Regions from separate parts of the Homo sapiens genome. Here region 1 is linked to region 2. The links are contacts of gene promoters, found by promoter capture Hi-C in human tissues and cell types (Jung and others, 2019). All regions are on one chromosome and are shown on one strand. The core of a region is centred on a gene start or on the middle of the fragment in contact, and the rest is flanking DNA. Distances in the headings are between cores, read along the strand shown. Region 1 holds the start of MOCS1 (molybdenum cofactor synthesis 1). Region 2 holds the start of NFYA (nuclear transcription factor Y subunit alpha).

What was found. The method cuts DNA at HindIII sites, captures the fragments that hold promoters and counts their contacts. A contact is called where the count stands out against the background at its distance.
Region 1: a contact is called between the fragment with the promoter of MOCS1 here and the fragment with the promoter of NFYA in region 2, in 1 of the 25 tissues and cell types used here (hippocampus).

Annotation. Positions count from the first base shown.
Region 1 is chr6:39,929,983-39,937,290 of GRCh38, forward strand. It overlaps MOCS1 (molybdenum cofactor synthesis 1), which reads right to left and starts at 4,480. Exons shown (of 11, transcript NM_001358530.2): 1 at 4,313-4,480. The coding sequence starts at 4,435. It overlaps LOC102723789 (a long non-coding RNA gene), which reads left to right and starts at 4,587. Exons shown (of 6, transcript XR_001744112.1): 1 at 4,587-4,661. The HindIII fragment of the contact is 11,059 bases long and covers 1-7,308 here.
Region 2 is chr6:41,070,616-41,077,795 of GRCh38, forward strand. NFYA (nuclear transcription factor Y subunit alpha) reads left to right here and starts at 2,359. Exons shown (of 10, transcript NM_002505.5): 1 at 2,359-2,469. It overlaps OARD1 (O-acyl-ADP-ribose deacylase 1), which reads right to left and starts at 1,741. Exons shown (of 6, transcript NM_001329686.2): 1 at 1,621-1,741; 2 at 981-1,060; 3 at 517-661. The coding sequence starts at 1,019. RefSeq lists enhancers at 1,760-1,969, 2,000-2,049 and silencers at 2,430-3,059, 3,090-3,249. The HindIII fragment of the contact is 6,789 bases long and covers 1-6,499 here.

The DNA.
Region 1 (7,308 bases), core at 3,230-5,729, 1.1 Mb before region 2:
CTGGCAATGGGAGAGGCTGGTCAGATTTCACTTTTAAGAACTTCTGTGACCTTGTCTAGACTTATGCAGACTGCACCACCCGTTCTGAACCCAGCCTCCTAAACACACACACTCTCACCCTGCCAGCAATGCAAACTCATTACTCAGATATTAACGAGCCCCATTCCTGCATCTTCTCTCCTCTAACACTGCATGCCCTACTTTCATTCTTCTACTTTTTTCCCTGTCCCTTAAGTCTCCTGGAGGAAAAAAATATCAGCACCAGTCAAAGGAGCCCAAGATTCAGAGGGAATTATAGGACAGAGTAGACAGCAACCCTGCTTGCTCAGGAGGGCTGGGACATGCCAGAAGTAGTAGGAAGCACTCAACGGATCATATTCCCAGGGTCCCAGGCTGGCCTGGGCTGTTTCCTCTCCGTGAGAAGTCATTCTGCCTGATTCAGTATCCCCAGTGTCTAGCACAGGATGTTGGTACATTTTGAATCACATGAACAAATAGTCCTGTCCCTAATGTAAGCAGAAAGGTCGTATATGCAAAAGCCAGTTACATGGGGGTAATCATTTCCCGGCTGGTCTCTACTGTCAAAATGGTTTAACCTGGTATAGTGGTTTGAAACCCTGGCAGCCCATCAAAATCACTCAAGGAGCTTCAAGAAGGATTCTAGTTTCAAGAAGGAGCTAGAATCTGTCCCAAAGATTCTAGCTCAATCTAGTGCCTCAGCTGTGCAGCCAGGGCTGAGAACCATCGGCCTAGTGACACCAAGTGCCAGGTGCTATTTTAATCCAGGGCAAGTTGTTGTGGTTCTGAGCACAGGATTTGGAGTAGGTGAGCCTATATTACAAGCCTGGCTCTAGCTGTTGAGCAAGTCACCTAAATTCTCGAAACCTTAGTTTCCTCATCTATGCAGTGGAAATAATAATCCAACCTAACTCAGTTGGAGGAGTTCCTGGCACCGAGGTTTTCATTCAGTGATCCATGGAGGAACACTGTTGTGTGCTGTGATCAGTTTTTCTAGTTTGTCAGCTTCCCTTCCCTTCCAAGACCCTGGCCTTCCAACCCTACTAACAGCAGATGGCCAGAGGCAGGGTTTCAAAGCTGCTGCCACACCACCCAAGTGGGGTCTGAGCATCCCCAGGACCACCAATACTGGTGTGCATCAGCAGGCACTAAGCAGCCTGCCAGACACTACTGGTCATCTCATGTCTACCCAATGCAGATTAGGGTGAAGGGGGTGGGGAAGGGTGGGACAAAAGAGTTAAAGCGGGACCCTGCCCTCAAGGTGCCCTCCTCTACTAGTCACTCATCTTAGGCATCTGATTTGACTGCTAAAGGCTAGCCCTCAAATAGCTCCAAAGTCTAAACAGAGCAGCAGGGTTATTCGAGAGGAAAAAAAGCACATTCCAAATCTAAGTATCGTGGCCCTGATTTACCCTGCTATTGGGATGATGTATACTAAGGGTCTCTTAAAATTAATCTCTTTTAAATGAGAGGACCCAACAAAGAGCCTAGCCTAGCTCGATTCTCCTTCCCCCTCCCCTCATTCCCACCCTAAGTGTGAGGTCTTTACACCTATAGCTTCTGAGGAGGACAGTCACATTTCGCTGAAACATGGATTTTGAGGAGCTGGGCAGATTGGAAGTCAAGATGACCTCCTGAAAGCCCTCTTTCCCTCCTCCCCCTCATTCTCCCTCACCAGTGCCTGCTGTACTCCTTCTACCTTCACCCACACCCACTTCCTTGCAGCCTAACCCCTAGCCAGCATTTGTTTTTTCTGGCCCCCTGAACAGATGGGTGCCTTTGCCTTGCCTAGACTCACCCTCCCTGCTTCCCCCGCCACAGGCAGCAGGCTTCATTGTTGCCCAACAAAGCCTGCATGGAGCCTCAGAGGGAGAAAGAGGGATACAGCACTCCCAGGCTAGGCTGAACCCTACAAAGATTGTCTGGGCCACCCCAGATGCAGGCTGGCAGGTTGCTGTGTCTCCCCCACCCACCTCCCCATTGACCCACACACTACTCCTTTCCATAGCTAGAAGCTACTCGACCTGTTCTTGGACTCAGCCCACAGCCCCCTTTCCGCAATCCTCACAGCCAGCTCCCACTTAACCTCACTTCTCTCCCTCACACCCTCATCCTGCCACACAAACAATGCCCAGTGGCTTTCCATCCTAGCTCTCCAAGCACCTCCCATCCCAAACCAGACTACCAGAGCCCTGTGTGGGCGTGTTGGGGGAGACAGACCCTGCAAGAAGGGGTTCAAGGTGTCCCCACCCCAACTGGCAAGCTCTGGAGATGAGCAGAACATATCCATTTCCAGACTCACCTCCCCTTAGAGTCTCCTCAAGACAAGTTTCTGTGCCCTCCCCCATCTTATGATGGGCTGGCCCAGTCCTCTCATTTTATAAACATGAAGCAAAGGGAAGTGACAGCCCCAGGAGCCAGGTGAAATTGGAGGCGAAACTGGCGGGTGAAAACATGGGACTCCCTGTCCAGTGTGGTCTACTATGCCACGTGACTCCTCACTAGTTAAGTTTCAAGCAGCTACAATTATTGGCTGAATCCACTGCCTGCACAACCCTGCGTTAAGCGCTTGTGGGGATAGAAAGGCGGAGGTGCACCCAGCCCTCAGGAACTCCCAGTCTGCTGAAGATAATCCTAATGAGATGTCCAGGATTCAATGTGAGTTGACAGAATAGCTATCCAACAAGTCCAGATGGGAGGGGACTCACAGGACAGAGCATGTGCCAGTGGCAGCATGGATAATAGTAATTACCACCAACATTTACATAACACAGCACTTACATGGGCTAAGCTTTGTTCTAAGTATATACGTTAACATACGTTAACTCTTTTAATCCCTGTGACATCCTATGAAGTAGACACTTTTATTCTTACTTTGCAGATGAGAAAACAGACACTGAGAGGTAAGGGGACTTGGTGAATCCCTAATAAGGGATGGGGCTGCCCCAGAGTCTATGTTCTCCTTTCTGCCACATTACCCCTCCCTTCACAGTGTAAAGGGATGGATAGGAGCAGGCTCTCTCCCTGGCCTCCACACAGGGAGGACGGAAAAGCATTAGAGTTGAGTTCCTGCCCTCTACAGCTCTGCGACTGGAGGAAAGTTAACTTAGATTAGCCCCCTCATCTGAACATACAAACTCTACTCACCTCACATGGCTTAGTGAGGACTAAATGCTTCCACATGTGAGTCACTCAACACAGGTTCTCTCATGAAAGACCAGTACAAAATAAACTAGGGGGTGGGGGGCTGGAGAAGAAAAGTCCCTTTTCTTGAATTCTTTAAAGATCTCTCAGCCATCTTTGCTTTCCTATCTCTTCCTCAATGATGTTCAGAGTTTGAGGATACTAAAAAGTCTTCACTTCCCAACCATGGGCCTGCTTATCTGAGGATCCCAGAGGGGCTTAGATTTGGGGAAAGCAAATTTGGCGGAAGTCATTGAGCAATATAGGGGAGGAGGGAGCAGTGATCTTATGAATCCCAGGACAGGAAGCCTAGTTCTGGGAGACGGGGAAAAAAACGCCTAGATAGGTACCGAAAAGAGGTTTCACTAAATGAAAAGAGGTACTTTTCCCCCCAAATTATTCCCTAACCACCTGAGCAGAAGAACAACCAAAACCTAAAACTTTTAATGACTTGAAACACTCTGAGGGGTGCTGGCAAGGACTGAGGGATCTTACCCAAAACCCTAAAGACAGAGGAATTAATTTCTCACCTGGAAGAAGCCACGTCCTGCCCTGTTCTGCTCTAGGATAAGGCTGAACCCTCCCAAGGTTAATAAAAAAGACAAGGAGAGTCAGCAAAGGATGGGTTACAGAGCCCTGGGACTACAGTAACAACTCATCGTTGGTGACACCGAGGTGACATGTTTAGTCAGTCGCACTATGAAGCAGGTGTCACAGGGACACCTGATCTCTCAGCTCTTGGGATAGGGAGGGAAAATGTTTAAGAAAGAGGGTGGGTGCAAGGCAAGGCTGAAAGGTACTAAGACACCTCACTGGACCCAAAGTCCCAGTCCTCTGCTTACCCGAATTTCTGGCCAAGCTCAGGGCTAGAAGGGGTGGCGTGGCTGGGGGGCAGGGAGGTTCTGAAGCGGGACTCCCAGGAACCTCTCCCGCTGGGCTAGCGGGTGAGACCGGGCGGTCCATCTGGAGAACATCGCTCCACTGAGGAGTGCCAACGGGTCCCTCCCAGAAGCGGTCAAGCAGATAGGCCGGGAGCTACTGGGGGAAAAGGGCAGTGTGCCGGGGCCACTCCTGCCCCGGGAAGCTGTGGACGCAGGCGGGGTGGGCTCACCTCCGAGGCAGCTCGCGCGGACTCCCCGGGGCAGGGCTGGGTCACCGGAGCCCCTGAGCTGCAGCTCCGGGCGCTGGACCTCAGAAGCCGCCGCAGCATCCGGGACAGTGGCCGCGCCGCCATGAAGCCTGATACGAGCGGAACCGCAGCCCGCTTCGGGAGCACACTGGCCGGGCACTCGCCCCCGGGGTCATCCCAGCAAGGGCGGGGAGGGGCAGGGGGAGGGCGGGACCCGCGCAGCCAATAGGCGAGGACGCAGTCCCGCGTGGCCTTGTGGGAGCTGTAGTACGCTCCCTGTGCCCACTTTCCTGGGCCGGGGTAGCGCTCTAGGGCAGAAGGGTAAACTCAGGTAAGGAACGGGGTTCTTTTCCTTCCAGTTTTTCTGGCTGCTCTAGTCTCAGATTTAGGTCGTGGTGTGACAGTAGGCAGGACAGGACAAGGGCCAAACGAATGAGGCACTGCCTTGGATGCAAAATTTAAGAGGGTGCCAGGTAAACTGCGGTTATCAAAGTAAGTAATTTTTTAATGTAATATTTCAAAAAATCGTAATAAATTTTCAGAAGTCCGTGAAATATCAACATTCTAAATAAAAAGATTTAGCCTACACTTGCATGACTCACATCACTCAGTGCACCATAGTGCAGATTGTGGTTGTAAAACGGTCAGTTAGGTCTTTCAAGATACACTTCTCCAGTTGTGCCCCAAAAGGATATTAACAATCTTTTTTTTTTTTTTTTTTTTCGTGGAGAAGGCAAGAGTATATGAGAAGTCACAGAATGAGTGGACAACATTTTTGAAATGCTTCTTATACACCAAGCACCATGCTAAATGTTATTTAAAACAATCCTGGTATGAATAGAATGTCCTTTTTGCAACTGAGGACATTGAGGCTTAGAGAGACCAGGTAATTTTCTCGAAGTCACACAGCTGATAGTGGGTTTCAAACCCAGGGCAATCTGCTTTCTACAGTCATTCAGTCAAGATTCAGTATGTGTTAGGAATGGTGGGGTGTGCCTCTTCCTCTCTATAAAAAGCAGAGTGCTGTAGTCCTTTAAGATTTTGGATAACACACACAATAATGAGCTTATGTACTAAGAATAATTATGCTCAAACCAGCCTGTTGTATCCAAAACCCTGTCCCTGTGGAATTGCAAGAATAAAACACCGGCTGGAACATACAGCTGCCAAGTGCATGCTTAGGAAGTGGGAATATAGCTCCTGATCTTGAAGAATTGACCGAATAGTGGGAGAGGAAAAAATAACTGAATATAACTGACTTTTACAAGTGCAGTGGGACTGTCAGAAAAGCTGAGATGATTTTAGCCTTAGATTCAATGTGAATTTCTCACAATGATACTCAAAATTCAGAAAATATATTGTAGGGGATGAAAGTGTATCTGGGGTGTGTTTGAAACTGATGAGACAAGTATGCCAGAGGTCTGTTTGCAAGGGGCCTGAAGACCAACTGAGGACTGTTCAAGCTCTGTCCACTGCTAAGTTTAGATATGTCTGGATTTATCAGGAAAACTGGGTATGGGGGAGAGAAGGATAAAAACTTTTTTTTTTTTTGTATGTATGAGGCTTGAAGAGCCTTCTAGAGAGGACTCAACCTCAGGGAAGAAGCCATCTGACATATGAACTTGATCCAAGAATGTCACCAGCTCCTTGGAGCCTCTCTAGATTCCACCCTCTTCATACAAGTTGTATGTGATCATCCCTTCACTTGGGCTTTACTGTCATCTTTTATAGAACTTGGGTCTCCAAGGCAAGACCTAAGGCTTACTCAGTTCTGTTTGAAGGCTGAAATCCTCTCCATATTATCATACATCTACTTGGACTCCTGTAGTGCTGGGAAACTTTCTGGCTTCCTGATGTTGTCTGGTCCACTTAAATGTTTCCCCACCTATTAAAGTTCTTACTTGTATTCAGCAAAAAAGTGCCCCTTTCTGTCAACATATGGTGATTAAGTGTCATCAGGGCCGAATCCTCTGCTAATGGCTGGGAATAAGGAAATACTTTCAAGGGCTCACAGCCTGCAGTAGGGCTCTGATGTGACAAGTCCATGGATTGATTTGGAGGGTTCTGTAGACCCCTGAACTTGAATGCATAATACTGTATTTTTTTTTCCTGGGGAATGGTGGCTTTTTGTCACATGCTCAAAGAGCCTCATGGAACATACTGTCCTAGAAATCTCTCTTTTGTGATACCCTCCTATTGGCCCTAGTTTTAGCCCCCTAGGCATATACATCCTCTCTTTGAGACTTTAACCCAAGTACTCTCTTAGTGATAAACAGCAGCAGTTATTGCCAACCCTTGTACACAATGTCTTGTGAGCCACTGCACTATCTTCTCTAATACAATTTGGTTTGCCTAGGTCCTGGTGGCAGACTGTATTTGCAAGATGGCTGCAACAATATTTCCTGTCTCGTATGTTCTAGAGCTGTGTTGTCCAATAGAAACTTCTGCAATAATGGAGATATTCCATGTCCTGACATAGCTATTGAACACATGAAATGTGGCTAGTGTGACTGAGAATTGAATTTCTAATTTTATTAAATTGTCATTAATTGAAGTGTAAACAGCCATGTGTGGCTACTGGCTACTGTATTATTCAGCCCTATGATAGAATTTTGCTTTCTCCAGAAGGGGTGGAATTAACTTTCCTTCCTTTGCATCTGGGTCAGTTTGTAACTTGTTTGTAACAGTGTGAAAGTGATACTGCATGGCTTTTGAGACTAGGTCAGAAAAATATGATGCAATTCCCACCTTACAATTTATCTCTAGTGATCTGTTCTCCAGCTGACAGGAAGATATGTTTCTCCTTATTCCCTACCCATTTTCTCCGCACTTGACTTTCATCTCCCAACTCCCCCTCAAAAAAAGATCCAGGATGTGATTTCCAGCCATATGTCCATTGTCTCTTCTAATAGGAACCTCAAGTGTCCAGTCATCTGAATATTCATTCAAACCTATCCCCATTCTATCAGTAACTGTGG
Region 2 (7,180 bases), core at 1,109-3,608:
AGCAGTAAGAATTGCTTTTGTCTAAGGCTAAGAATCACTGTGGACACTGATGCTGTTAAGCCTGGAATGTGGTCGGAGAAACTGTTGCAGAAGCTTTACATAGGATTCTAGTGCACATTTCTGGTTTAAAGTGGCCCGTAGAAAGTGATGGGAGGGGTCTGTAAGGAAGAAGAGGTTTCTAAATTCCTCTTTGAAGAGAAAGCAGAATATTGGTAAGTAAAGGATCTTGAATGCCAACCTATAGACTAAGCATCTCAGAGTTATTTCAAGTTTCAGAGAAGTACAGTAATATCGTCAAGAAAGTTTCATGATACAAGAGGAAGAGATTAAAAACCTTCACAGGAGTTGGGTTTTGATATGGTAAACGTCTAAACTAGAGGCCATTCTTGGGGAGGAAAATCTTAAAAACATTTGGTTCTTAGGAATCCCCTCTTTACACGCATATTTTATTAAAGTGTAACAGATTAAAAGGTGCTCTAGCCAGGGCAAACCAGGTAAGTGGTTTCCAAAACTCACGTTGATTTAAAAGTTCTTGCACCCCTCCAAATTTCTTCTTAAAGAGGACAGCTATCCCAGCGCCCATGCGACAATCCTCACTGATACAGTGGGCTAAAGAGTCTGTTTTCGGGCATGCAAAAAGGTCTCCTTTCACATAAGTGATCTAAAAAATGTGCAAAGGAAAAGACAATGTTTTATTAGATACAGTAAAATACTAAGCTATTTTTCTGTATTTTGTGTCCCCCACGACTACCTCTCCCGGCACCCCTTCCTCCAATCTGATTTAAAGCCAAACCAATTACAGCATGTGTAAAAGGAAAGTAATGGATGATCCCTGCCTAGAATTTTGAGCCTTTTTAAAGTAAATCAGCTAGAGAGAAAAAAAGATAATGCAATCATTAATTTAATTAAAAAGTGTTTATGCTTTTGACCTCCATTATTACGAATTTCAGTTCACCAATAAGTCAATAGTTGTTACGCACTCTGCTTCCTTCTGGATCTTCATTAAGGCTGCTGGCCATGATACTGAGTCGCTATTTCCAGAATTTAAGTGTTTCTTCAGCTATGAGAAGGGAAAAGGAAGTAAAAATGCTTAGGCAGCCTTAGTATATAATATTCTGATTGCCCTGTACAACCACTTAATAGGCTTTTTTCCCCAACGTTTATCGATGAATGTGAGTTTGTTCGGCCCCTGGGACGTAATACAAAACCCTTCTGGGGCAAAGAGGAAGAACGCTTAGGTTCGGAGGCTGTCTCGACCCGCTCTCATTTCGTGCTTTCCTGGAGCGCCCCGCTCCGTCAGCGGAAGCAAAGCCCATCCCTAAGACACGCCTCCTCCTTTCTCCAGGGCCACTCCGGAGCAAGGCCGATTTAGGACGGTCTCCTTTTCTCTGCACGACGCAAAAGTATTTCCCCAGTGGGTCTGGCTTAGAAGAAAACAGAAGGGACTTGGCCACAGTCCCGTTAAGCCGCAACCACAGAGTGTACAGGGTACTGGCGTGCTGAGCCCCAGGCGTGGGGAAAGGAAGGCGGCCTCTCAAGGAACGTTCACCCCCCACTTTTTTGGGGGGTGCGTGGGAGAAGGAAAGAGTCTATTGAAGCCTCCCATTCTCTGTCTCCTACCCTAGGGCGGGTCAGCGAGGACGCAGTCTGTCCTGGGGTCCTATGGGAGGGTGCGGGGAGGCTCGCTCAAAGCCCCAACGTACCCAAGTCACCCTTCACCTGGAAAGGAGTCGGTTGTTTGGAGGTCCCCGCCCCGCGGGGAAGGGCTCCGGATCCGACCCTGGTAGGTGGGGAGCAGCGGACCAGCCCAAACGCGGAGCCAATCCCGCCAAAGCCCTTAATTGCACGCATCTAAGATGGCCGCCCCCGCCCGGTAGCGGGGCGGAAACGAGCCCCTCTAGCTTGCTAGCCGAGCCCACACTCTTTGGCGAAGGCCGCCGAACTTCCGGCAGTAAATTCCGTGGTTTCCCGCCGCCGCCCGCGCATGCGTAACGAAACTGCCCCACGAGTCGGGAAAAGTGGCGCTTGCGCATTAGCCGCAGGGGTGTGTCCTAGTGGCCACTTGGAAAGGGGTGGGCAGCTGGCAAAGGGGCTAGTTAGCGCCTGCGTAGTACTAAGCTCAAGGCAGCGTTTTGAGTTGAAGGGTCTGGCGCGTCTGGAAAGCGCCTGCGTATTCCTTTCACTGGGGGTGGTGTCAAAGCGGGAAGGTGGGCGTGGCTTCAGGGAACGCCTGCGCGTTGCTCCTCCGAAGGGGTGGGGCGATCCCTGAACTGGAGTTAGTGGGCGTGGCCTCAGAGGCGCCTGCGCGGAGGCGGTTGGAGGGAGGCCCGATTCCCCTTTGTTCGGGTTCGCCATTTTGCTAGGCAGCGGCAGTGGCGGCGGCAGCGGCGGCTGGAGCCTCTGATTGGGTTTCGGAGTCCGGTACTGGAGCCAATCAGCGCGGGCAGCGAACCGGGGGAGCGAGGCACGGTGAGTGTGAGGAGCCAATATCCAGCGGCCCAGAGCCGGCCCCAGCGCCCCGATTGGCGGGTCTCGCTGACCACTCAGGAGAGGCCCAGGCGCCCGTCGAGCCCGGGGAGTCGAGCTGAGCCTAGCCGAGCCGGGCGGCCAGCGGCCCCGGCCCGGGGCCTGCGAGCGCCTCGGGGCACTCCCGGCCGAGGCCTGCAGGGGCCGCCCCGCGCGGGGATGGCGCCTCGGGGAGCAGGCACCTCGGGGCTCCGACCCTCGCAGGGTGCCAGGGCCAGTTGGGAATGCGTCCCTGTTCCCCGACTCAGGCCCAGGTTCTCAGGCCCCAGGCCTGGGGCCACGAATGGCCCTACACTAGGGGACACATGCGCGCCCTGGGCCTCGGCGATTTCCTCCTGGTCGTTCTGGCCGCAAACTTAAACCTGCCCTTGCACTCTCCACTCTCCGGCCCTTGGGACAGGAAGCCTCCCCGGGGCCCGCGCCCCCCGCTCCCCGCTCCCAGCGAGCCGGGTCTGTCTTATCTGCAGCCCCTCTAGGTCGGGAGGGAGGCCTGGGGAGGGTGCGCGCCGCGGCCGCGGGGTCCCGTGTGCGGCTGGCAACGGGGCTGGCCCGCCCACGCCTCGGAGCCCTATGGGCCCGCCCCCGCTGTCTCCCTGGTGGGGAGAGGGGGCCGTTAGTTCGCCCACTCCCCCTGCTCCGCCGCGCCCCTCCTCCCAGCCCGCTCCGCCCGGGTCTCCGGCCCGGCGCCGTTACCACCCCTTTTGGCTCGTCATTTCCTCTCTTCCCCGCCCCGTTCGCAGTGGCAGGACCGCACACCTCCGTCTTGGAGCCCAACCAAGCGGTCTCCGTTTCTTGTCCGGGCTGTAAGACCAGTCCATTCGGTGCCTGGAACCTCACTCTTAGAAGATTGATACCCTTGCGCATTCTTTCCGGAGGCTGCACAACTTGCTGTTCATATTACTAATCTTATCCACTGCTCATTTTGTGAAATCTCCCTCCCTTGGGAATATAGTACAGTTTTGGGGGTTTTTTTTCCCTTTGTTTTTGCCTTCGCCTTTCTATGTTACTTTGTGTCAGGCTTGACCCAGTCCACTCATCTCTTGGTTTATGTTTTTCTGATACACTTTCAAGTCCTGTGTTAACGTTTTCTCAGCAGATGTTTAGAAACTAACAGTGTTGTGGGGTTTTCCTTAGGGTGAGAGGTTGCTGTTGGCAACCAATTATCCAGCAGTTAGTATATGCCAGGTATAATCCGTGTGTTAGGGAGGGAGTACGTAGAGGTCAATAAGAACTGTGCCTACCTGATGGAAATTGACAGGTGAACAGGTAGTTAATACCTAACGGTTAGTGCTATAAAGGGGCCAAGTTCAGTTGCTGTGAAGTATCCATGCGTGAGCTAGCCTCCGTGAAAGGCTTATCACCACCGCACTTTTGACTGGCCTTGAAGAATGATGGTAATTCTTCCACAGGAAAGATGGAAGAGCTTGCTCGAAGAGAAGAAAAGCATGTGCAGAGGAATCAAATTACACTGTTGGAGGCAGGAAGATGGGATAGGGAAGTGGGCAGTAGTTGTGATAGTTTAGGGGGGAAAGCCCAGTTGGTAAAATACTTGTATATCTTGCTAAGGAATATTTTGGAAACAGTTATTATTTTGTATGGAGGTTCAAGTAGAAGGGATCTAGAGCTATATTTTTTCCTAAGATTGAAAAAACGAGTTTCTGACTTGTTTATGGGTTCTGCCCCGTGATAGTGGCTGAGTTCTTTGGGGATGAAGAGGAGACTTGTCCTAGGACTCTGAAAATTATTTTTACTCATGTGAATCATCTAGTGCATTCCCTGGCACATAAAGGTCTTAAGTATCTGGTGCCCATTTCTAAATTCACATTTAATGTTATACAACTAATAGGTTTCAGAAAACTCGTATTCCAGTGCTCTTTCATTACTAAAACTTCGGGGACAGGTTTTATTTTCACTTTTTAGGGTGAGTTTTTCATTGTTGCTTAAGTGATTTTCTTAATTCATTTGATTGTCACGTTATCCGCATTAGCAGATGAGATGATAGAGCTTAAGTAGTCTAAAAAACATGTATATTTGCCTTTGGAACGTTTTTTTGTTTGTTTTTGGATACAGGGCTTTCCTCTGTCATCCAGGCTGGAGTACAGTGGCGCAATCGTAGCTCACTAACCTGGAACTCCTGGGCTCAAGCCATCCTCCCTTCTTGTTCTCCCAAAACGTTGGGATTACAGGCATGAGCCACTGCGTCCTGACCTGAAATAGATGTTTTAACCTTAGTATTTAAAAATAGGTATGTTCTGGTCACTTCAAAATCACTAAATACTTTTGCTTGGCATCTTTCTAAAAGGCATTATAATCTGGTAACTTTTTTGCTAAATACCTTACAAGCTTCCACCAGTCTGCAGAAGAATTTCTTTGTCTGACATTTTGAGAGAAAGTAGTGTGGCCCCAAGCTTTTTTTCCTGTTTAGTCCACTGTTCACATGCTGAAATATTTCTGTTCTTGTTTTTATGCTCTCTTGATTTGTAGTACTTCACCTTCCTCCACATCATCACATAGCTAAATCTTTCTCACACTTAAGACCAGTTCATCCTGCAGGCCTCTGATAGCAAAGAAAAAAAAAGTTCAAGTAGTACCTTTTTTTTTTTAAGCCTTGTTGATTTATCCCCAGCTGGAACAAATCTCTGTCCTCCAAATTCCCATATCACTTTATCTCTTAGGATTCCAGTATAGGTTTTTAGTCCATTACTAAACTTAAAGACTCTTTGAAGTTTGAATCTTCGTCAGAGATTTCTTTTTATTTTTAAAACCTTCAGAACAGTGTCTGGCACATGGTACATAATTAGTGGAGAGAAGTGCATTAGAAAGCTCCAATCCAGAAATCTGTAGGATGATGGGGAAGCTGGACAGCCCTTTGTTGTAGTCTAGTCTTTCATCAAGCGTCTATCAGGACCCACTTGTTGAGTTGTGAAAGAAATTGAGTGAGCCAATGCTGGGAATTTTTAAATAATAGAATAGAAAATATCTGCCAGGCATGATGATGGCTCACGACTGTAATCCCAGCACTTTGGGAAGCCGAAGTGGGAGAATCCTTTGAGCTCAGGAGTTTGAGACCAGCCTGGGTAGCATAGGGAGACCCCCTCTCTTAAAAGAAAAAAAAGAATAGAAAATACCAAAGTGCATCTTGTGTTGTATAAAGGTAAATGCTGTTTCATGAAACTTTCATTTCAGTTACATGCTTTATACATGTGTGCACTGAGTTGTGATAATGAAATGTGTTTCTTACTAAGGGTTGTGGTCAAAAAAGTTAAAAAGCTACTGTTCTAGGCTTTGCCTGGTAGTGATTATCAACTGTGATAATCCTATGGCTTTTCATATGCTTACACTAGTTGAGTTTCTGAAGAGGTTTTAGCTTTGGAGTTTGTGTAGGTCCACATAGAATGGGTTCCTAGTAAGTGGTTGGCTAAGTCTCAGCTTTTGCACCTTGGAATAGTGGGGCAAAGAGAATTGCACTGAGAAGAGAATGCACTAGGAAGAGAATTTTCATGCTAGCCAGAATAAACACTTATTATTTGTTTCTCTCTCTTTGAGGAAAAACCATTCAAAACTTTGTGTTAAGAGCAAGAGCTAGACAGACTAAATCTGGCTTAGTTTGTCATAATCTTGGGCAAAGAGGCACTTTGGGAAAGACTATCGAATTGTATTGCAGTCTTGCTAACTGAAGCTCACAGTAGTAGGAACATATGACTTTACTGAAGCCAGTTGCTTATAGCATTAACCATTAACAGTATCAATATCATGATACAGGCTAAATCACTCTGTCATTAATGTGAGAGAGAATTGCTGCTAGATTTGAAGCTGCTCTTCAAATCTTGATACTCTTCAAAGTATAAATTTAAATATTGCTAAATTGGTTCATTTGTATTACCAGAATAAACTAGTTAAGAAGAAAATCTGTACGTTACATATATTAGTCATTATGTGCTTCAAGTTATATTTAGTCTTGTAAAGATGTAAACTTCTGGATATTAGTCAAGGAAAAAATCTCATATAAGAAGGAAATTTGGAGTTGGGGAGGCGTTGAAACCTAAAAGACATTCCTTTCATGATCCTTATTTTTTAAAATCAATTTATTGAGAGATACTTTAGAAACAAAGTATAATAATTTTAAATGTGTATTTTGATGAGTTTTGACAAATTTGTACACCTGTGCAACTGCTACCACAATGAAGATATAAAACATTTTCATCACCCTACAATGTTCCTAAGGCTCCATGCCAGTCAACCTCCCTCTTTCCTGTCTCCCTGTATTCTCCACTCCCAAGGAACCACTGATCCATTTTCTGTCTCTAGATTACTGATGTCTTTTGGAGATTTTATATAAATGGAATCATATATATTCGTTTACATCATAACCTTAATTTTATTAGTTTATAGCCATAAATGTATTGTGTATTAGAGACAAGATAGAATTTAGGGAAGCCTGTTAGTGCCCCTAACAGACTCACAGTCTGGCTGAAAACCTGATTTTCTATTCTATACCCAGAATCTCTGAGGAGCAGACTTAGTCAACCAATTCCAAAGAGACTGGTGTAAAAATCAGAAAACCGGTTTGTCATGTTGCTGATTATATTTGCTCCCTGTTGGCCAATCTATATGTAAATCCAAATTATAGCTAGAAATTTACCTAGCGAGCATT